7 separate regions of the Homo sapiens genome follow, and all the other regions are linked to region 1. Evidence: promoter capture Hi-C in 16 types of primary human blood cells and fetal thymus (Javierre and others, 2016). All regions are on one chromosome and are shown on one strand. Each heading gives the region's core, a stretch centred on a gene start or on the middle of the fragment in contact. The rest is flanking DNA. Distances are from core to core; before and after follow the strand shown.

The links. Contacts are between HindIII fragments. The CHiCAGO score rates a contact against its expected background, and 5 or more counts as called.
Region 2: a contact is called between a fragment that was not itself captured here and the fragment with the promoter of PLAG1 in region 1, in 2 of 17 cell types (neutrophils and total CD4 T cells). The highest score is 8.0, in neutrophils.
Region 3: a contact is called between the fragment with the promoter of PCMTD1 here and the fragment with the promoter of PLAG1 in region 1, in 4 of 17 cell types (activated CD4 T cells, total CD4 T cells, naive CD8 T cells and 1 more). The highest score is 16.5, in activated CD4 T cells.
Region 4: a contact is called between a fragment that was not itself captured here and the fragment with the promoter of PLAG1 in region 1, in 1 of 17 cell types (total CD4 T cells). The highest score is 7.1, in total CD4 T cells.
Region 5: a fragment that was not itself captured here is called in contact with the fragment with the promoter of PLAG1 in region 1 in 1 of 17 cell types (neutrophils); the score reaches 6.8 in neutrophils.
Region 6: a fragment that was not itself captured here is called in contact with the fragment with the promoter of PLAG1 in region 1 in 1 of 17 cell types (neutrophils); the score reaches 8.0 in neutrophils.
Region 7: a fragment that was not itself captured here is called in contact with the fragment with the promoter of PLAG1 in region 1 in 2 of 17 cell types (neutrophils and total CD4 T cells); the score reaches 8.7 in neutrophils.

Annotation. Positions count from the first base shown.
Region 1 is chr8:56,209,965-56,212,943 of GRCh38, reverse strand. It overlaps PLAG1 (PLAG1 zinc finger), which reads left to right and starts at 1,671. Exons shown (of 5, transcript NM_002655.3): 1 at 1,671-1,823. It overlaps CHCHD7 (coiled-coil-helix-coiled-coil-helix domain containing 7), which reads right to left and starts at 1,155. Exons shown (of 4, transcript NM_001011671.3): 1 at 1,107-1,155. RefSeq lists an enhancer at 977-1,046 and silencers at 1,059-1,284, 1,127-1,686. The HindIII fragment of the contact is 9,849 bases long and covers 1-2,979 here.
Region 2 is chr8:60,644,217-60,646,977 of GRCh38, reverse strand. No RefSeq gene overlaps it. Among named protein-coding and RNA genes, the nearest start is that of CHD7, 33 kb to the left of the region's middle. The HindIII fragment of the contact is 2,613 bases long and covers 168-2,761 here.
Region 3 is chr8:51,897,646-51,900,354 of GRCh38, reverse strand. It overlaps PCMTD1 (protein-L-isoaspartate (D-aspartate) O-methyltransferase domain containing 1), which reads left to right and starts at 1,319. Exons shown (of 6, transcript NM_052937.4): 1 at 1,319-1,425. PCMTD1-DT (PCMTD1 divergent transcript) reads right to left here and starts at 1,040. Exons shown (of 4, transcript NR_189279.1): 1 at 509-1,040. RefSeq lists enhancers at 203-262, 563-622, 793-1,082 and a silencer at 1,123-1,812. The HindIII fragment of the contact is 4,691 bases long and covers 1-2,709 here.
Region 4 is chr8:51,880,701-51,883,561 of GRCh38, reverse strand. All of the region lies in intron 1 of PCMTD1 (protein-L-isoaspartate (D-aspartate) O-methyltransferase domain containing 1), which reads left to right. Among named protein-coding and RNA genes, the nearest start is that of PCMTD1, 17 kb to the left of the region's middle. The HindIII fragment of the contact is 1,504 bases long and covers 775-2,278 here.
Region 5 is chr8:60,660,102-60,663,170 of GRCh38, reverse strand. No RefSeq gene overlaps it. Among named protein-coding and RNA genes, the nearest start is that of CHD7, 17 kb to the left of the region's middle. The HindIII fragment of the contact is 4,989 bases long and covers 1-3,069 here.
Region 6 is chr8:60,686,248-60,688,987 of GRCh38, reverse strand. The region is part of intron 1 of CHD7 (chromodomain helicase DNA binding protein 7); the gene reads right to left. Among named protein-coding and RNA genes, the nearest start is that of CHD7, 8.9 kb to the right of the region's middle. The HindIII fragment of the contact is 2,689 bases long and covers 96-2,740 here.
Region 7 is chr8:60,525,014-60,527,737 of GRCh38, reverse strand. All of the region lies in intron 1 of RAB2A (RAB2A, member RAS oncogene family), which reads right to left. Among named protein-coding and RNA genes, the nearest start is that of RAB2A, 9.4 kb to the right of the region's middle. The HindIII fragment of the contact is 2,790 bases long and covers 1-2,724 here.

The sequences.
Region 1 (2,979 bases), core at 422-2,921:
TTATTGTCAGTCAGAAATTCTTCAAAAATAATACCTAGGTAACATCACATATACCCAGTTCGAGTTTGGTGCATGAGTTTCTTCACATTTCATTTCCTTTTCCTTCCGGATTCTAAATACAAGGCACTCTAAGTTTGGATTTCCGAAAGTCCCCTCCTTTGCATGAGTTCCTCGTGTATTAACTGGAATTGAAGAGGAAATGTCAATTTACAGTGAGGAGCGGGGCTGAATTACAACATCGAGTGCTCCGCTAAAGGGGCCTTGTCTATTACTTTTTGAATGTACTAAATAAATGTTACAAGGCTCTACTACTTGCAGAGCATAACCAGAAAGAAAAACCAAGCAAAGATATGAAGGAGGGGCCACAAAACCATAGCACATTCAGGGGATAACTCTAAAATCCACTCCAAAGGGCAAACTGCTTAATAAAGCAGTTCCTGATTTCCCATCCAGTGGTTCACGTCCCCCCTCTCTAAGTAGCTTTGAAAGGGCAGGGGGAAGGAAACGTTTCTGAACACGTTCATGCCCACACGCCCCGTGGTCGGAGCCCAGGCAGGGTCCGCGGCTCTGCTAAACCCGGAAGCTGCACACGCCGTGCCGTTAACCCACTGCCAGGTGCAAAGTGGAAGGGGGCAAGAAGTCAAGGGTGGCCTGCCGGAGGTGGGCGCGCAGGGCAAGGAGAAACGAAGGGCGAACCCGAGGCCTCGCCGCCTTCCGCGGTGTAGCCCGTCAGCATCTGATCCTGGACGGCGCGCACAGGTGAACACACCTTGCTGTGCCGAGACCATGCCGAGAGAGACAAGGGGCGAGGAAAACGCAGGGAACTGGGGGTGGGGCCGGTAACTGCGCTTCAGAGGCTACACAGGAGAGTGGAAGAAGAGCTGGGGTTGCCCGGACTAGGCAGAGGTCATCTTCCTCGCCCCCGGAGCGAACAGACCCGTGTGGCGGGAGGAAGAGCAACGGGAAGAGGTCCGCGCTGCGGCGAAGCCTGGCGGGAGCGCCTCCGCGCCGCAGAAGTGCATTCGGGCCCCGCTACGGCCCAAGGGCACCCCTCTCTCCCCGCTTTTCTGCGGCCGCTTCGGAGGTAGGGCGGGGGAACCACTCACCTCCGGCCTCCGCTTCGCCAGCACCCAGGCCGTCTCCAGCTCCAAACACGTCAATGGCTCACGCAGCAGGACCTTAAGTAGCGCGCATCCCAACTTGCTGCCCCCGCTCCCCGGCGGCAGCCCGCCCAATCGGCGCGCGCCGCCGCCAGACTGACAGCCGCGCGGGGCCCTGGGCCGCAGGGGCGGTCGGGCCTCGCCCCGCCCCCGCCTGGCGAAAGGAGGGCCGAGGCGGGAGGAGTGGGCGGGGCGGTGAGCGCGACCCCGCCCCCTCTTCCCCCGCCCCACCGCGCCCCCCAGCCGCGGCCCGTCTCTTAACACTTCGGCTTGACGGGCGGCGTCGCGGCCCAATGGGCGGGCCAACTCCCGCCAGCGGCGGCTCCGAGTGGCCAGCTCTCGGGCGGAGCGCGCGCGGGGGGCGGGCGCAGCGGCGGGCGGGGTTTGGGGGCGGGCCGACGGGAGGCGGGGGCGGTGGCCGAACAGGCAGGGGGAGGCAGCGGTGGGCGCGACGTCGGCGGCGGCGGCGGCGGCGGCGGCGGCAGCTGCAAGTTGGGCTGCAGGGGCAGCGCATACACTACAATGGCTGCTGGAAAGAGGCGTAAGGAAACAATTTCCAGGCCCGCCGCGTCCAGCCCGAAATATGAGAAAAAAATTATTAGAAATTCCGCGGGCGGTGTAGAGGCGGCGGACGGGCCGGAGGGAGGATGTTAAAGCCCCGCGGTGAGTTCTCCGGGGGTCCGGGGCGGCGGCGAGGCGTTTAGCGGGAGAAATATCAGGGTTATTTAAATTATGGGACTAGCCGAGGGGGCAGAGGAGCAGCGGCGGCGGCAGGAGGAGGAAAAGTTTGTGCTACTCTCAGCCCCTGCTCAGGACCCCAGAGAGAAAAATAATAATAAAAAATAAAATAAAATAATTACGCGGGGCTGCGAGGACTCCCGAAGTCGCTTCTGACAGGGCAGGGGGCGATGCGGCTGGGGACCCGAAGGTGAGGTCGGTGGGAAAAAAAAAAAAACCTTTATTCAGGGTCTGGAAAGTTTGAAAAGTTTTCCTCCTCCTCCTCCTCCTCCTCCTCTCTGGTGCTGTGAATATTGTGACAGCGGCAGCGGCAGCAGCGAGAGCGGAAGACATTAGAGACCCGAAAAATAAGGGAAAAATTAATATAAATTCAGTTTTGAGAGTAAACTCTCCGCATTTTCCACCAAAACATCCCGGGGGAAGGTCGCTTCCCAAAGGGCCTGGCGGAAACCCGCAGTCGGCAATATTTGGGGGGCACTTTGAGTGACTTGGGGTAACTTTGCCCCTTTTTCAAAAGAGGTTTTTCTTTTCTGGAGAAATGAATTTGTTTTTGCCCTTTCCTCAGGTGGGCAAGCCGGGGTCGGGGTGCGGGGTCTGCAGGGAGGTGTGAGCCCGGGGTGTGTGGCTGCGAGGGGGGGTAGGGGGAGGGGGTGCTAAATGAAAGCAGGAGATCGGCACAGAGCAGGGACAGCTTGTTGTCAGTATCATAAACAACCAAAATGGAGGGAGAACTCAGGCATATAACCAAATAAAAATTTTTAAAAAATCGCAAAAAATCCCTAAAAATCCGGGATGCTCCCCCTTTTCTCGCTAAAGGTAAAAGTATGTACCGCCTTTCCCCTGAAGTCCATTTTGACTTTGCAGGGACCAAGGAGTTAATATTTATTTATTTTTTAAAACTTTCGAAGGGCAAAAGCCTTTTATAACTCAACCGACAATGAGAAAACGTGAAAATCCGATGCAAGAGAAGCAGGGGGAGCGAGGGGGGAGGTGGTAGTGCAGAAACTGCTAAACTTATTGGTAATGTGGACTGATCTCAGATAAGATAAACACTATATTTGCTATTTTATAACTCTCTTTT
Region 2 (2,761 bases), core at 225-2,724, 4.4 Mb before region 1:
AGTATTCATGTAGATAAAATTATGTACTTTAATCAATGTGTACATGATAGCATGCTTTTACAGTACTGTTTACAGCGATGTGCTCCTGAAAGTTCCATAAATTAATATTTGAAATTTAGGTGTTTTTAAATGTAATGTAATTTGATTTCTTGATTAGTGGTGAAGCTTTTTTTGTGTATAGTAAAGAATCATTCTGTAAGTTATATGAGTTTTTCCTGTATCAGATTTGCCTTAAATAATCCTATGTTGAACTCATTATAAATAGGTTTGACTCAGAAGTATCATTTTAGTGTTTTTTTGCTTGTGAACAGAAGAATAAGGACCACAATGTAATCATCGTATTTTTCTTCACGGGAATTCCACCATCTGTGTGTTTTGGGCAGTGGGAGAAGGGGGAGGGCAAACTTCTTCTCGGTCCCTCCTGTGTTTCTCTAGTTCTAGCAGGGACGTTTCTGTAATTGGTTTTCAACATTTGCTGAGAGTCTGTTTCCTCTTAACATTCAACATGTTTAACAGAAGTCTTGTAATAGTTCCAAAAATAATAAAACCAGTCCCAGGAATAAAAATGATACATTCACAGCATATTGGTGTTTTTTATTTTTTGTCATGGCTTTGGTTTTAAGTTCTTTTTAATAATTCCTAGTGTCAAATCACATGAAAGAAATAAAAAGGTTTTCTTCACAGTAATAAAGCCCAGTGAAGAAATGCTATCGATGACTCGTGCAGCGGGAGGAGTTGTCAGCCCAGAGGCAGTCACAGGACCATGTTGAAGGCACTCCTGGTACAGTGTGGCCATCTCAATGTCTAGCGCTTCTCTCTAGTGATGTTAAGTGGATGGTTATGGTTGCTTGTAATGCTGTAGCCTAGGACGAATGAGAGCTGATGCTTCTGATGTATCATTAATGCTGCTCTTAATCTGCTGAAATCATTCCTCACATTGTCAAATATTAACATAAAAAAGCAACACCTACTTATATTTCATCCCACCCCACCATCACCCCTAATACAGTGATTAATGTGTCCCAACAATAAATTTCTTTGCTTTAATAATTAGATGTTTGAATGAAAATAATTGGACTTCCTTTACAATTATTAATTAATTTAACATTATTATTATTATTAGAGCATCTTTAAGTGTTCAGGGCATCTGGACTTAGGAAGAGCTTTAAAATCCCAGAGAGAGATAAGAGGCAACTGCCAAGCAGGTAACTGGGGAGCTGATAACAAAATCTCTTTGATTTCATGCAAGGCATTTTAACTGTTTTTTCATCAGTAACTTGGAGTCCAAAAGACCTAAGACCTTGGCAATAAAAGCAATAATTCTGGTGAAATGTGGTCCTCTGTGTTGCTGTTACAGCATGTATCCCAGAGCCAGCAGGATTCACACCATGTTTGGGAAACTTTCGTCCTTTCCCTAAATCTGTCCCTTGCACTCTTCTAAATGAGCCCAGTTTTCCCTGGACCTGGATGGGTTGTGAACAGAAAGCCTTGTCACAAGTGTGGTTTGAACGCCAGCAGCATCCTCATGGCTGTACCTGGATCGTCTGACCCAGAGTCTAAAGACATCTTCAGGGGACTCACATGCACCCCACCACAGGAGAAGCCGGGCTGAGAGCACACCCCAAACTGAGGCCAACCAGAACCCCCCATAGCTCTCACAGTGGGAACCCCGTTGTGTATTCTGTACGCCATTTTGCAGGTTTCCAGAAAGTGGAAGGATTCAGTAGAATGAGAAGGAGTATGCACCTCACGGAGCTCCATCAATACTGCGGTTCTGGCCAGGTGCAGTGGCTCATGCCTGTAATCCCAGCACTTTGAAAGGCTGAGACGGGCAGATGGTTTGAGGCCAGAAGCTCGAGACTAGCCCGAAAGACATGGCGAAACTTCATCTCTACTAAAAGTACAAAAAAAAAAAAAAAAAAAAAAAAAGGCCGGGCGCGGTGGCTCATGCCTGTAATCCCAGCACTTTGGGAGGCTGAGGCGGGCAGATCACGAGGTCAGGAGATCAAGACCATCCCGGCTAACACAGTGAAACCCCGTCTCTACTAAAAATACAAAAAATTAGCCGGCCGTAGTGGCGGGCACCTGTGGTCCCAGCTACTCAGGAGGCTGAGGCAGGAGAATGGCGTGAACCCAGGAGGCGGAGCTTGCAGTGAGCCGAGATCATGCCACTGCACTCCAGCCTGGACGACAGAGCGAGACTCCGTCTCAAAAAAAAAAAAAAAAAGCCGGGCATGGTGGCACGTGCCTGTAATCACGTGCCTGTAATCCCAGCTACTCGGGAGGCTGAGGCACGAGAATCACTTGAACTCAGGAGGCGGAGGTTACTGTGAGCCGAGATCGAGCCACGGCACTCCAGACTAGGTGACAGAGTGAGACTCCATCTCAAAACAACAAAAACAAACAAACCAAAAAAAAAAAAACCCAAAAACATCCTGTGGTTCAAATTCAAATTATATCATCACCAAGGTAAAACCAAAAAAACAAACAGTGGTGGAGGATTGTCATTCAGTGTGTAAGCATTACATTTAAAATGTGTTTGTTTCTTAAGGCTGCTGTGAAAGTACCAGGGACTGGGTGGCGTGAAGCAACGGAACTGTATTCTCTCACAGTTCTAGACAAGAGTGGGAAATCCAGCTACAGGCAGGGCTATGCTCCTTCTGAGCTGCTGGGTAGAAACCTTCCTGGCCCAGCCTAGCTTCCAGGTTTCCTGCAATTGGCATTCTTTGGCTTGCAGCTACAGGGGAAGAGGGCACAGAAC
Region 3 (2,709 bases), core at 70-2,569, 4.3 Mb after region 1:
AACCTACTATTAGAGACTGAAGGGAAACGCACAAAGATTAATGAACAACAAAGAACACTTCAAAAAGTACAGTATTTGGAAAAGACATGCCTTTATGTACACTAAAACTAATTTAAAAAATTAAATGCAGTTTGCTAGGAGTCTTACAAGTATTAACAGCATGTTCACTGCTTAGGATCCTTAGTAGCAATATTTTCCCGGCTCGCCTGCCCCTATGCCTCATTTCCTCTTCTTTTTTTTTTTGAGATGGAGTTTCGCTCTTGCCGCCCAGGCCAGGTGCCATCTCAGCACTGCAACCTCCGACTCCCGGGTTCAAGCGATTCTCCTACCTCAGCCTCCCGAGTTGCTGGGACTACAGGCGCACGGCACCACACCCGGCTAATTTTTGTATTTTTAGTAGAGACGGGGTTTCACCATGTAGGCCAGGCTGGTCTCTAAGTCCTGACCTCAGGTGATCCGCCTGTCTCGGCCTCCCAAAGTGCTGGGATGACAGGCGTGAGCCACTCACCCGGCCCTCTTCTCGACTTTCTATCCCTCCTCCTCAACACCCTTTCCTTCTGGAAATGGGCTTTGGGGTGGTTAACCAAGCCCAGGGAAACTTGCGTGGCCCAGCATCTTCCGTCCGCTGCAGGAGGAGCACACGCCCCCGGCCCGGGTCAGCAAGACGCGAGAAAGCGGCCACGCCGGGCGTCCGGGAGCTGAGGCTGGAGGGCGCCTGGCAGGCAGGGCGGGGCCCAGGCGGCGGGAGTGCTTATGACCGGCGCTGGGGGGAACTTCTGGACGTCAAGGGGCCACTATAAAGCGGCACAGTCTTGAGCCTTCGCTCTTCACCTAAGTCAGTGAGCGCCCTTCGCAAAGCCTCTGTGGAGGTAACCATTGGGGGTTCGCCTCCAAATCCAGGAATGCACCTCAAAAATGCTCCTACACCGTAAGACCGTGTCCTTCAATGCAAAGGGGACTGTGCGGCGAGGCACCGACAAGCCGTAGCCCTGAGACCACTGAAAGCCTGCACCCCAGCGCCGGTGCGAGAACGTGGAGATGGCGGTGGGGAGGAGAGGTGGAGGCCATGCTCTCGCGTGATCTCCCCTACCGCCATCGTCTTCTGGCCTGTCAAGGCCTCGCGTTGTTTGGGCTTGGGGGCGGAGCGAGCCCTGAGGGGGGCGGGGCCAGATGGGGGCGTCTCCCGGCCTTGTTGACTTTGGCGTCCGCGGGGAGCTGCCCCTGTGCCCGTGGTTCTCTGCGCATGCCCGGACCCCGGCGGCTCCGGAGTCCGGGAGGCTCTGGCTGCTCCAGTCGCGGGTCCGGGCCCCGCCTCTCCACTCGGCGGTGGCGTCCGTGTTGTTATTGTGGTGGTAGCGGCGTCTGGCTGCTGCGGACCCCGCCGAGTCCTAGCGCCTGGCCTGCGCGCCGCTGCCCGCGCCACAGGTAACGCCGCCGCCAGTGGGGGCTCGGGGTCGTGGGGTGTGCGAGTCCCGCGTGCTAGGGCCGGGCGGGCGACTGGGATGCGCTTGGAGGCCAGAGGGCCAGGGGGACGGCAGCCGAAGAGTCGGGGGCAGGGGGACTTAAGGGCGGGCAGGTCGGGGGCCAGGAAACTGAGGCGCTGCGGGGCAGGTTGGGGGAAGGACGGGCCGGGGGCGGAGGACTTGGGAGGTCGGGGAGTCGAAAGGGGCCCAGCGAAGCCTGGAGGTCGGGAGCCGGGGTCCCTGGGGCCGGGGAGGTCGGGGGCCCGAGGGAGGCCGGGGCGCCGCGTCCTCGGCCCGTCCTCGGCTCGTCCTCGGCTCTGACCTGGGCTTGGGGACCAGAGTCCCGAGGCTGGCGTCTTGAGATGCCCGCGGGCCCCTTAGGGCCGTTTTGGATCCGCCCAGTGACTTCTGTTTTGGTTTTGGAGGCAGAGAATCCAGTCTACGTAGACTCGGGGAAGTCTCGGGGGCTGGGAGGGGACTGAGAGGTTATAGCAGGCGCCAAGGCCTCTTTTTGTGTTTTTGAGCGTCTACTACCGTTCCGGGGAAGTGCAGTGCCCGCGTTTTGCTTGGGGAATTTCAGACACCGGCATGGGGAGGACCCACGGGCAGAACCCGAGGGAGTAATTTTGCAAATCCAAGATTTTTTGGAACTTCTATAATTTTGTTTTCGTGTGTCCTCTTTTTAGAATCGAGAAACCAGAGATATATTTTTAACATTACAAATCAGAAGAATTTGCTACGGAGGAAAAAAGTATGCTTTTAGCAGTGTTTTTCCCCTATTTATTTTTTTAATTACAAAAGTACTGCTTGCTCCTTGAGAAAAACATGAAGCAGCCAAACAATGAGGAAACCTGCCCTCTCTCGCGCCCTTCCCCCCATATTTCTCCTTCTTACTACCCAGGGTAGCCAGTCTCCAAGTGTGGTGGGTAGTTATTCAGGATTTTTTTTTTCTGTGCATTTAATGAGTGTGCTTTAGAAACAAGATTGGGATCATATATAGTACAGTATATCGTTTTATTAGCCAACAATGCATCATGGATATTCCTCCATTTTATTACACACCTCATTATTTTAAAAAACATTATTACTATGTATTAGAGAATCCAATCTACGTAGGCTTGGGGAAGCCTTTTCTTCATTGTTAAACATGGTCGCCAAGTTTTCAATAATCAGTAGCTTTGAAAAGGGCTACAAGCCAATATTTTGAAACAATGTGGCAAAACTTTCAGAATGTCTGCGGCCAGAC
Region 4 (2,861 bases), core at 277-2,776, 4.3 Mb after region 1:
TTTATAAAACTGTTTACTCTTTTGTGAGATTTACTGTGGTTTAATATTGCATTAATAATTAAGAAGAAAATCTGTTGAATTTCTTTGCTCTCCCTGTGTTTTTGTGTGTGTCCCTCTATTATTATCTATATATGCATATATATACATTTTACTCTTAATAACAATCTCCCCACTTGCTAGCCTTAGGACACTGAAGTATCAACTCTTTCACCTTTAATGGGAACTGTGGCATCTGTACTACAGTCTTTGCTACTTAATTTAATTCAGGCCATGGAAAATTACAAGTTTAAATACTTTATAATCTGATGATAATACTTTTGGTTTCATAGGTTTTATTCCATCTAGCTATTATATTCCTTGTTGATTTGCTCTCATTTTGAACTCTGAAGCATTTACCTTACTTTTTTTGTCTGTTCTTTTTTTTTGAGACGGAATCTCGCTGTGTCGCCCAGGCTGGAGTCCAGTGGCGCGATCTCAGCTCACTGCAAGCTCTGCCTCCTGGGTTCACGCCATTCTCCCGCCTCAGCTTCCTGAGTAGCTGGGACTACAGGCGCCCACCACCACGCCTGGCTAATTTTTTTTTTTTTTTTGTATTTTTAGTAAAGACGGAGTTTCACCGTGTTAGCAAGCATGGTCTCTATCTCCTGACCTCGTGATCCGCCTGCCTCGGCCTCCCAAAGTGCTGGGATTATAGGTGTGAGCCACTGCGTCCGGCCGTTTTTTATTTCTTTTTTTTTTTTTTTAAGTATGCTATTCATAACTAAATTGTAAGCTTTTAAAGACTTGCGTTTTCTCTCCAATGAAATATAATACCCCAAACAGGCTATGTTAATGTCCAGTGGAGTGTATAATTTGTCAAGTACATAGATATATGTCTTCTGTTCTTTTCATGATCTTAAATAACTGAGAAACTACACTCAGTTACTCATTAGCAGGGATCTTGAATAATATCTTTGTTATAAGGCATTCAACTAAGTGTCAGAAGTAAACAAGTGACTAGCATATAGACCCTTACTTTGAAGAGGCCACAGTCAAGTGGGTGGGAAACAGGATAATCACTTTGTGGAGAGATGATACAGAGATACATAGGCGGGTGTTTGAGAGCTTTTGAAAGAAGGTACAGTTATGAATTGAATGTTCATGTCCCCCTAAAAGTCACGTGTTGAAACCCTGACCGCCCCCTACCCCATGCCCAGTGCAGCTGTACTTGAATACGGGGCTTCCGAGGAAGTAATTAAGATCATAATGGTGAGGCCCTGATCCAATAGCGTCATTTTAAAAAGTGACACCAGAGAGCTCCCTCATGCTTTTTTGTGTGTACAAAGAAGAGGTCATGTGAGAACACAGCAAGATGGTGACCATCGGCAAGCCAGGAAGAGAGGCCTAGAGGCCTTACCAGAAAGTGATTCTGTTGGCACTTTGATCTTGGACTTCTAGCTTGAGAAAATAAATTTGGGTTGTTTAAGGCACCCAGTCTATGGTACTTTGTTATGACGCCTGAAAAGACTAAGGCTTATAAGTGTTTTGGGGTTGGACTTAGAGATTTCTAAGAGGAGGGGGACTCATTAGTGGCATCTGAGTGAACAGGGAGAACTTTCTAGGTAGAGACTTAATGCATATGCAAAAACATGGATGCTTGAAGAAGTTTATTGTGGTTAAGGGAACTTCAGCAAAGGCTGTGGGAGGAGAGATGGCTGGAGGTGCCCCTGAAATAGTATTCAGGGCTCAGATTAGATAATGCACTTTTGAAATCGAAAAAAATGGAGCCCAGATATGAGCAAAGTTCTGTGGCTTTTGACTTACACCGAGGTTTTAAGCCCAGCTCTAAATTTTTTTCTTTGTAAAATGGGTATAATAAAACCTACCTTGAAGGTTTTTTTGAAGAATAATTAAAAGACAATTCTAAAACAGTTGGTTGAATGCCAGGCAACTACTAAGTGTAGTAATTATTAATTAAGTTGGACAAAATCAGATCTGTTGGGCTCCAAATGAAGGTTGAACTTACTACACTCTGCCTGTCTGTAGATGTAAATATAGATGCTATCATATTTGTAATATTCTTGTCTAATGGGATGGGATTAGGATGACAGTCTGGCAAATTGAGGCGTTTTGTCTTATGACCTGTTTTTCTGTGGAGGACGAAGAAGGACCCTTGTGGAGCCTAGTCTTGAGGGGTTGTTGGTTGTAGTAGTGGTAATGAATTTGCTGTGCAGGTGGGAGCCAGAGGTAAATAAACACAAGAGATATTGCTGGGCATTATTGAAAATCCAGTTAAGCTTGAAGAATATAAATGTTTAGTGGCACCACCAACACAGGCACTGGATTTCTTTCTTAAGTAACACTTCACAATATAAAACAGTCCATGGAGAAGAGAGATTATTGGCTTGTTCCATGATCAGAAGTTTGCAAGATGAGTGAAGCAGAAAGTTAGAATGAAGGATTGAGAGTAATGAAGACTCAGTAAGTGAAGCAGTGTTCGTGGGGTTGATTTGGGAAGAAGATGAGAGTAGGTGTTAGCCGGTTGTAGCCCATGGGCCAAACTTGGACTACTGTCTTTTTTTGTGTGGTCTGCAAACTAAGAATGGTGTTTACTTTCAAATGGTTGGAAGACTATTTTATGACATGAAAATGATATGACATTCCAATTTTAGTGTCCAGAAATAAAATTGTATTGGAACAAAGCCATACTCTTTAACTTTTAAGTTGTCTATAGCTACTTTTGCCTTACAACAGTGGTGTTCAGTAGTTGGGACAGAAACTATTGCCTGCAAATCCTAAAATGTTTATTAACTGGCCTTTTCAGAAAAAGTTTGCTGATCCTTGGGGTAGAGTACTAGTGACATTGACTGTAGTGGCAGACA
Region 5 (3,069 bases), core at 242-2,741, 4.5 Mb before region 1:
CAGAATGTGGGATATTACACAGGACTACTGAACCAACGTTTTCAACAAATAAATCTCAAGAAAAAAGTAAAAAAGAGGGAAGGAGAATCTAAAGATTAAAAGGCACTTAAAGAGCCACATCGACCAAGTGTGACTTATTGGCCTTATTTGAGTCCTGATCTAATAAAACAGCTCTTAGAAAAAAAAAAAGTACTACACAATTGAGGAAATTTGATGTCACTGAATATTCACTGACATTAAGAAATTCTTTTTAATTTTTAGATATATTTTTGTTATTGTGGTTGGGGTTTTTTAATGAGTCCTTATATGTGTGAGATATACACTGAAATCTTTACAGATGAACTGATATGATTTCTGGCATTTGCCTTAAATAATCCAGTGGGATAGGCCAGGCGCGTTTGCTCATGCCTGTAATCCCAGCACTTTAGGAGGCCAAGGCAGGTGGATCCCTTGAGCCCAGCAGTTTGAGACCGGTCTGGGCAACATGGCAAAACCCTGTCTCTACGAAAAATACAAAAATTAATCAGGTGTGGTGGCATGCAACTGTAGTCCCAGCTACTTGGGAGCCTGAGGTAGGAGAATGACTTGAGCCCCTCAACCTCCAGGTCAGGGCTGCGGTAAGCTGTGATCGCACCACTGCACTCTAGCCTGTGAAACAGAGCAAGACCCTGTCTCAAAAGTAAATAAATAAAAAACCCAATGAGGGTGGGAAATGGGGACAGTTGGGTACAGAGGAAACAAGAGTGGCCAGAAATTGATGATTGTTGGACTTGGGTGATAGTACCTGGGGAGGGGGTTGTGGTTATACAGTTCTTCCTATTTTTGTGTATGTTTAAATTTTTTCCATAGTGACAGGTTTTTAAAGTAAGTAAAGGAGAGAGTTCACCCCACGAAAGTCAACACTTCCCTGTGAAAGTGAATGTCTATAGACAGGTGAGCAGGTATCCCAAACTGAGTCCTGGGAAAGTTTCATATTGAAAGTGTAATTAGGAAAAGAGGAACTACAGATTTCCAGAATAGTAACAATGCACTCTGCTGGCAAAAAATCAGTGCTTTGGAATTCAGTAAGCCTGGGTTTGATTCCACCTCTCACTCTTACTAGATCTGTCATCTTACGCACATCACTTAACTTCTGTAAGCCACCAAGTCTCAGTTTTCTTATCTGTAAAAGTAGGGATAATAATTTCCTCTACCTCATAGAGTTATTTTGAAGGTTAAATGAAACATGTGTATACAGCACCTTATAGTCTGCCTGTCACAAAATAAGTGCTCATTAAATGTTTGCTATATTATTATTTTATTACTGAATACAATATCATAAAAGGTAAGGAAACACCATAATATGTAGTTTGACAGAAAGCAAAATTTAAAAAAATGTTTTGAGACAGGGTCATGCTCTGTCACCCAGGCTGGAGTGCAGTGGTGCAATGATGGCTCACTGCAGCCTCAACCTCCTGGGTTCAAGCAATCCTCCCACCTCAGTCTCATGAGTAACTGGGACTACAGGCGTGCGCCACCACACCTGGCTAATTTTTGTATTTTTGTAGTGATAGGGTCTCCCCATGTTGCCCAGGCTGGTCTCGAACTCCTGGGCTCAAGTGATCTGCCTGCCTCAGCCTCCCAAAGTGCTGGGATTACAGGCGTGAGCCAGTGGGACAGCCACAAGATAAAATTTTGATGAATGGGCAATGGCAATGGTGCCATGTTACAATCAAGGAGTCTGATGCCTTTACCAGATTAGGTAAAATAGAGAATTAGATAATTCAAAGTTCACTGATGATATCATGGTGTTCATTTCATAGAGATGTGTCGAGTACAACTAGATGACAAAAAATTAAGCTAGGAGTGGTGGGAAGCCATGGGAGCAGAGGGTACTATGAATTTCCTTATTTGGTGATGAAAGCAGAGAAAGGAACAGAGCATCAAAGACTCCTTTCAAAGTAGGGGAGCTCTTGCAAGTCTGCAGGAAGAAAGAAAGCAACTTACAGAGCCCAAGGAGATGCTGAGGCAGGAGCGGTGCACCCTCAGCCAAGGAAGAGGGAAGGAGGGCTGGTCCTGTGGTGAGGTTGGAGATTCAGAGAAGTCGGTTTACAACGGAATAGGTTTGGCGAATAAAAACAGCACAAAGCCAAGAGAGGAATCAGCATTTCCAAAGACACCGTGGAAGGAACTGCGAAGAAAGAAAAATAATGGAAACAGAAATGATCGGATGGGGAAGGGAGAAGCGCAGAGATGTTTGGGAATGGGCGAGAAGAGCGTTGAGATTTGGGCTAGCGGCTGAAGGTGGCAAGGGTGGAAGGGCTGGCTCTAAACCAGAGCTGACTCTATGGGGTGCAGGCCTGGCTCCCAAGCAGCGGCAGCCAGCACTCTGTCCTGCCGTGGAGATTGTTTGTGGCCTTTGAAGCCATCTTCTCTTGGGCGATTGGAGAAGGGCGTCAACTGACACCGGGTAATAAATGTGCGTTCACAGTGGCCCGTGGTGGAACAGAGCCCTCCAGCTGCCCGGGGTGGAACTGCAGGTGCCTGGTAGAGAGCAGAGCACCCTCCCCAGAAAGTCCAGGGAAAAACACAGTAGAAAGCAAATCCAGCCAGTGAGGCTCAGGGGTCATGATCAAAAGTGTCAACATGTAAAATCCTTTATTTGTATATAATTACTGAGCCTTTCACTCTACTTATACCTTTATCTCCACTCCCTTTCAGCTTACATCTATGCCTCATCCCAAGAAGGTCACAGCGCTGGATTCTTGTACTACCTAATAAGAGAAAAACCCCTGGAAATGTAGTGACTTGCTTGGAGTAAGAACTACTGAGTCTAAATGTCAGACTTTCCAACAAAGGAGATTAAGATTGGGTAGGAATACCTTTGAAATCTAGATTCATCTGGATTATGATGTCATATTTAGGTATCTTTTTAAATGTAGATACATATGGCCTAACCCTCTTCTTGTCCTCCAATATTCACTGCTCCTCTTCTCTCACACTAATAGAATTTTTAGCTGGAAACACAGTTTCCCAAAAGAAAGACTGTGTATCTCAGCTTCCCTTAAGAAAGACTGTGTATCTCAGCTT
Region 6 (2,740 bases), core at 191-2,690, 4.5 Mb before region 1:
CCCCAACCCAAGCCTACTCCCATTTCAGATACCATCTTGTCTCCTCTTTACATGGTAAAGAGAACTTGGGAGGAAGGGACTGAGGAATCAAAGCTTCTGAGATTTGAGGATCTGGAGCTCCTATAGATTTTGAGAACACCCTGTGACCTCTGGTCTAAATCAGAAAACCGTAATATCCCAGAGCTGATCAAACATGCCTACACCACTGATCATCTAGGATAACATCACCCACCATGTTTGGAGAATTGCAGATTTGGGACAAAGAAGAAATGACTGTTTCACTAGAAGGACAGCCATAACTCTGGTAGGAGATGAACATCTTCAGGACAAGAGATAAGCACTCCCTCAAACCTGTCACTTTTAGTACCTGGGATATCTGAATCAACTCTATATAATCAACAAGAGAATTAGGCAAATAACATCTGGTTGCACTGATGGACAAAGGACATAAAGATGTTATTTTCAAATGTCTTCTCCTGAAGAAAAATGAAAATTGTGTAGCCAGTCACCATTTTAGGCCACTCATTCTTGTCCAGTCATCTGTAGGATTATGGTTTGAGGGACTTTTTAAAACAAAAGTAAAAGCAATACATATGATTTGATAAGTTCCATGATTAAACTGAACTAATAAAAATAGTAACCACTCAATGAATATGCCATATGCTATACCAAGTATGTTAGCTGGAGTGCCTCACTTAACCTTCACCATAACCCTGGGCAGTTAGGAGAATGTATTATGTCCATTTTTATGATTCACACCCGTATCTGTCCGACATCAAAACTCAAATTCTCAGCCGCCTCAGAAGGCAACCTCCACAAGAACAACTCTTCTCCTCATCTCCATGTGAGCAGAAGGGCCTTAAGTGTGAAAGGCAAGGACCTGGTCGTTTTAGGTACGAAGACATCCCATGACATATGGCCCCACAACTACAGCAGGCACCAACAGAGGAAGTACAGAAAAAAATAGCCTGGGCTGGTAAGACACAGCAATAGGTAGCATCACAGCATGGCATGGGTATTTTTAACACACCTTTGTCTATTAAGACGGCAACAATGCAAGCTCCAGAGCTGGTCTACGTGGCAACAGCAGCACCATGCTTATGTACACAGATTGTGGAGTCTAGCTCATCTGGATTCAAATTCCTCCTCCACCACGTGCTAGAAATGTATGGCCCTGGGTAATTTAACTTCTCATCCCTTTTAGTCTCCTCATCTGTAAAATGGGGATAATAGTTCTACCTATTACCTAGAGTTGCTCTGATGAGGAAATGAAATGATCCATGACAACACTCAGCTGAGTAACTACCCAACTGGAAATAACAGCCGGTCATTATGGTTATTACTGTTATTTTTAATATTGTTTTATTATTTCTGCACTATTTTACTTGATTGGCCCAACATATACTTCAGGGTGGGGTACACTGTTAATCAAGATTTTGAAATTCTCAAGATGAATATGTATGATTTTTCTTGCAAGATCGGTACACTTGAGATTAATGAAAGCAAAATTTCAAGCACAAACAAGGCCAAGTATACAAGAACATAAAACACTTTAACAGAGACTTTTAAAAAATTATTTAAGGATATGGGCTCAACAATTTCAATATAGTGCCAGTTCTAACCATAAATAATTGCTAGGCTCATACACTTCAAAATACTTCACCAACTGGGGTATTTTTTTTTTATCATATTCCTGTGCTCAAACTGATTTTATTATTCACTTAGTATGCTAGCAAGCACTGCCTTGGAAACTAAAGGCATGCTTATAATTCTTCGAGGGACTTCTCACTATGACTGCTTAGTATTATGTTAAAGATGTTTAATAGTTTTTAGGTGTGTTGAAATAATATGCACATTTGCTAATTATGTTTTAAATATCAACAGACAGATTTCTAAAATGTTGATATAACAGGGCACAGTGGTGCATGCCAGTAATCCCAGCTACTTGGGAGGCTGAGGCAGGAAAAGCCTTTGAGCTCAGGAATTAGAATCCAGCCTGGACAGTATTGTGAGACCCCATCTCGAAAACGAAACAAAACAAAAATGGATAACAAATAAAATGTTTGTGGTTTCTTTCAAAATGATGAAAAGAGGACACAGTGGCCTCTAAAAAGTTAAAGTAGTTCCCCAAACTTGCTGCAGAACTAGAAAGAAAATTAACTAGTAAGGTGCCATGTACCCTTTTTTAGACATACTGCAAATATGGTATAGAAATCTGACTGTTTTACACTGAGGATACTAGGGAAAGGAGGTGATGTGTCCAACCTAACACATGTGTCTAATTGCACACCTTTCCCTACACAAAGGGTGGGTGTGGAAACCCAGGTCGCACGCGGTCCCTGCTCAGCAGCAGATGGCTATTTGCCCAACCTCATCCTGATGAAATACATGGTGGAAAACTCAAATCCACCACATGACCTCTGCTGCCTCCTCAGCCACTGCAGATGCCAGGAGAGAAGGCAGGCCCCAAAGAAGCATCCCCTCTATTCTTCCATTAAAGCCACATCCACAGGGGCCTGCATGCGCCTTTCCATTCGATGTCTACACCTCTTAGAAATGATCTCTTACACCCTAAGAATACACTGCTGGCTGGACCTAATGACAGAATGTATTTTAAAGAGTTTTTTTTTTTTTTTTTTAAGAAAAACTGGCAAGTTGAAGAAATAGTATTAGATATAAATTGCCACAGAGTAGTTGGCACAAGCCCATCTGAAGCTGAAGTTAGTGCACCAAGTTTTCC
Region 7 (2,724 bases), core at 84-2,583, 4.3 Mb before region 1:
AATAATGGATACTATGATTAGGGTAAATGAGCAGGGTTGTCTTTTTGCACTGGTTAGTGCTAAATTCAGTGACCACTTCAAAGAAGTCTACACCACCTCATATCATAGACTTTGAGTATAAATGTCCTGATATGGTTTGGCTCTGTGTCCCCATGAAAATCTCATCTGGAATTGTAATCCCCACATGCTAGGGGAGTGGCCAATCTGGTTGTTTAATAAGGCATGGCCCTTCCTCCATTGTCCCTCTCCTGCCGCCTTGTGAAGAAGGTGCCTGCTTCCCCTTTGCCTTCTGCCATGATTGTAATTTTCCTGAGGCCTCTCCAGCTCTCCAGAACTGTGAGTCAATTAAACCTCTTCTGATCTTATTTTACTGTTTCTACCATTTGCTCCTTAGCCCTTGAAATTGTCTGGCTCTGTGTCTCCACCCAAATCTCACATCAAATTGTAATTTCCAATGTTGGGGGAGGGGCCTGGTGGGAGCTGATTGGGTCACAGAGGTGGATTCCTCCCCTTGCTGTTCTCAGTGACAGTGAGTTCTCACGAGATCTGGTTGCTTAAAAGTGTGTAGCACTTCCCCCTTCACTCTCTCTTTCCTGGTCTGACATGGCTAGATGTGCTTGCTTCCCCTTCACCTTCTGCCATGATTATAAGTTTCCTAAGGCCTCCCAGCCATGCTTCCTTTACAGCCTGTGGAATTGTGAGTTAATTAAACCTCTTTTTCTTCATAAATTCCCCAGTCCCAAGTACTTCTTTTTTTTTTTTTTTTTTTGAGATGGAGTCTCGCACTGTCGCCCAGGCTGGAGTGCAATGGTGCCATCTCAGCTCACTGCAACCTCTCCCTCCCGGGTTCAAATGATGCTCTCATCTCAGCCTCCCAAGTAGCTGGGATTACAGGCGCATGCCGCCACGCCTGGCTAATTTTTTGTATTTTAGTAGAGATGGGGTTTCACCGTGTTGCCCAGGCTGGTCTCGAACTCCTCAGCGCAAGCAATCCACCCGCCTCAGCCTCCAAAGTGCTAGGATTACAGGCGTGAACCATCATGCCTGGCCTCAGGTAGTTCTTTATAGCAGTGTGAGAATGGACTAATGCAGGCCTTTATGGTAAGCGGAAAAATGCCCTCCAAAAGATATTAACATCCTAATCCCCAGAACCTGTGAATATTTTACCCTAGCATGGCAAAGGGGATTTTGTAGATTTGATTAAGATTAGACCTTGAGATGGGGAGATTAGCATGTATTATCCAGGTAAGCCCAATCTAATCACATGAGTCCTTAAAAGTGGAAAACCTTTCCTAAAACAGAGAGACTTGGGATGGCCCAACAAGAAAGATGAGACACAAGAAGGACGTGACCCACTGTTGTTGGTTGTGAAGATGGAGGAAGGGGGCCATGGGCCAAGGGATGTGGGTAGGTGGGTGGACTCTAGAAGTCGGGAAAAGCTCTCAGATGATAGCCAGGAAGGAAACGGGGTCTCAGCCCTACAGTTTCATGGAAGTATATTCTGCCAACAACCTGAATGAGCCAGGTAGCTGAATGAGCTAGAAGGGAACCCAGTCCTGTTGAAACCTGGATTTCATCCCAGTGACACGTTAGACTTCTGAACTATAGAACCGTAAGATAAATTCATGTTGTTTCAGTTGCTAAGTTTCTGGTAGTTTGTTATGCTAGCAACAGAAAACTTATATATATATATATATATATATATATATATATATATGTACACACACACATATATACATATAGACATATATACATATAGACATATAGACATATATATACATATATACATATATAGACATATATATATATCTTTATTCTCTCATTTACATTAAAAAAACTAAAAAATATATATATATAAGTGCCCTTAAATCCTGTTTTGAAACAAGGAGGAATAAATTGGTCAATGCATGCAGCCTACCCAGCAGAACCTACCTAGCACACATTCATTATTTACTGAAGCACTAACTCTAACTCTGTACCAGGCACCATCCTTCCTTTAAGGAGCTGGCTACAGCATGCTGCTATCAATATTCATTTTCTCCCTTAGATTTGGCTAAAAACACAGTGACTCTCAGCTATACCTGAAAATGAGAATATTTTAAAGTGAGAACTGGGAGAAACCTAAAGCTACATTATGGCTATGAAAAGTAAAAACTCAGAAGATATGGGGAAAGAAAGAGCAAAGGGGAATGGAGCCAGACCACCCTGTAATCAAGAGAATGGCCCGTGGAGTCAGACACCCCTAGATCTTTGTTCTACCACTGTATTCGTTCGTTTTCACACTGCTATAAAGATACTACCCGAGACTGGGTAATTTATAAAGAGGCTTAATTGACTCACAGTTCTGCATGGCTGGGGAGGCCTCAGAAAACTTATAATCATGGCAGAAGGGGAAGCAGGCACATATTACGTGGCGGCAGGAGAAAAACAGAGTATGAATGAGGAACTGTCAAACACTTATAAAACCATCAGATCTCATGAGCACTCACTATCACCAGATCAGCATGGGGGAAACTGACCCCATGATCCAATCACCTTCCATGGGATCCCTCCCTCAACACGTGGGGACTACAGAAATTAAAATTTGAGATGAGATTCGAGTGGGACACAGAGCCAAACCAGATCAACCATCTACTAAGATAATTTGCCCCAAATGACACAACTCAGTTTCTCCATCTGTAAAACAGTAATCTCATGTATCTGTTGAAGAATTAACAGATAATA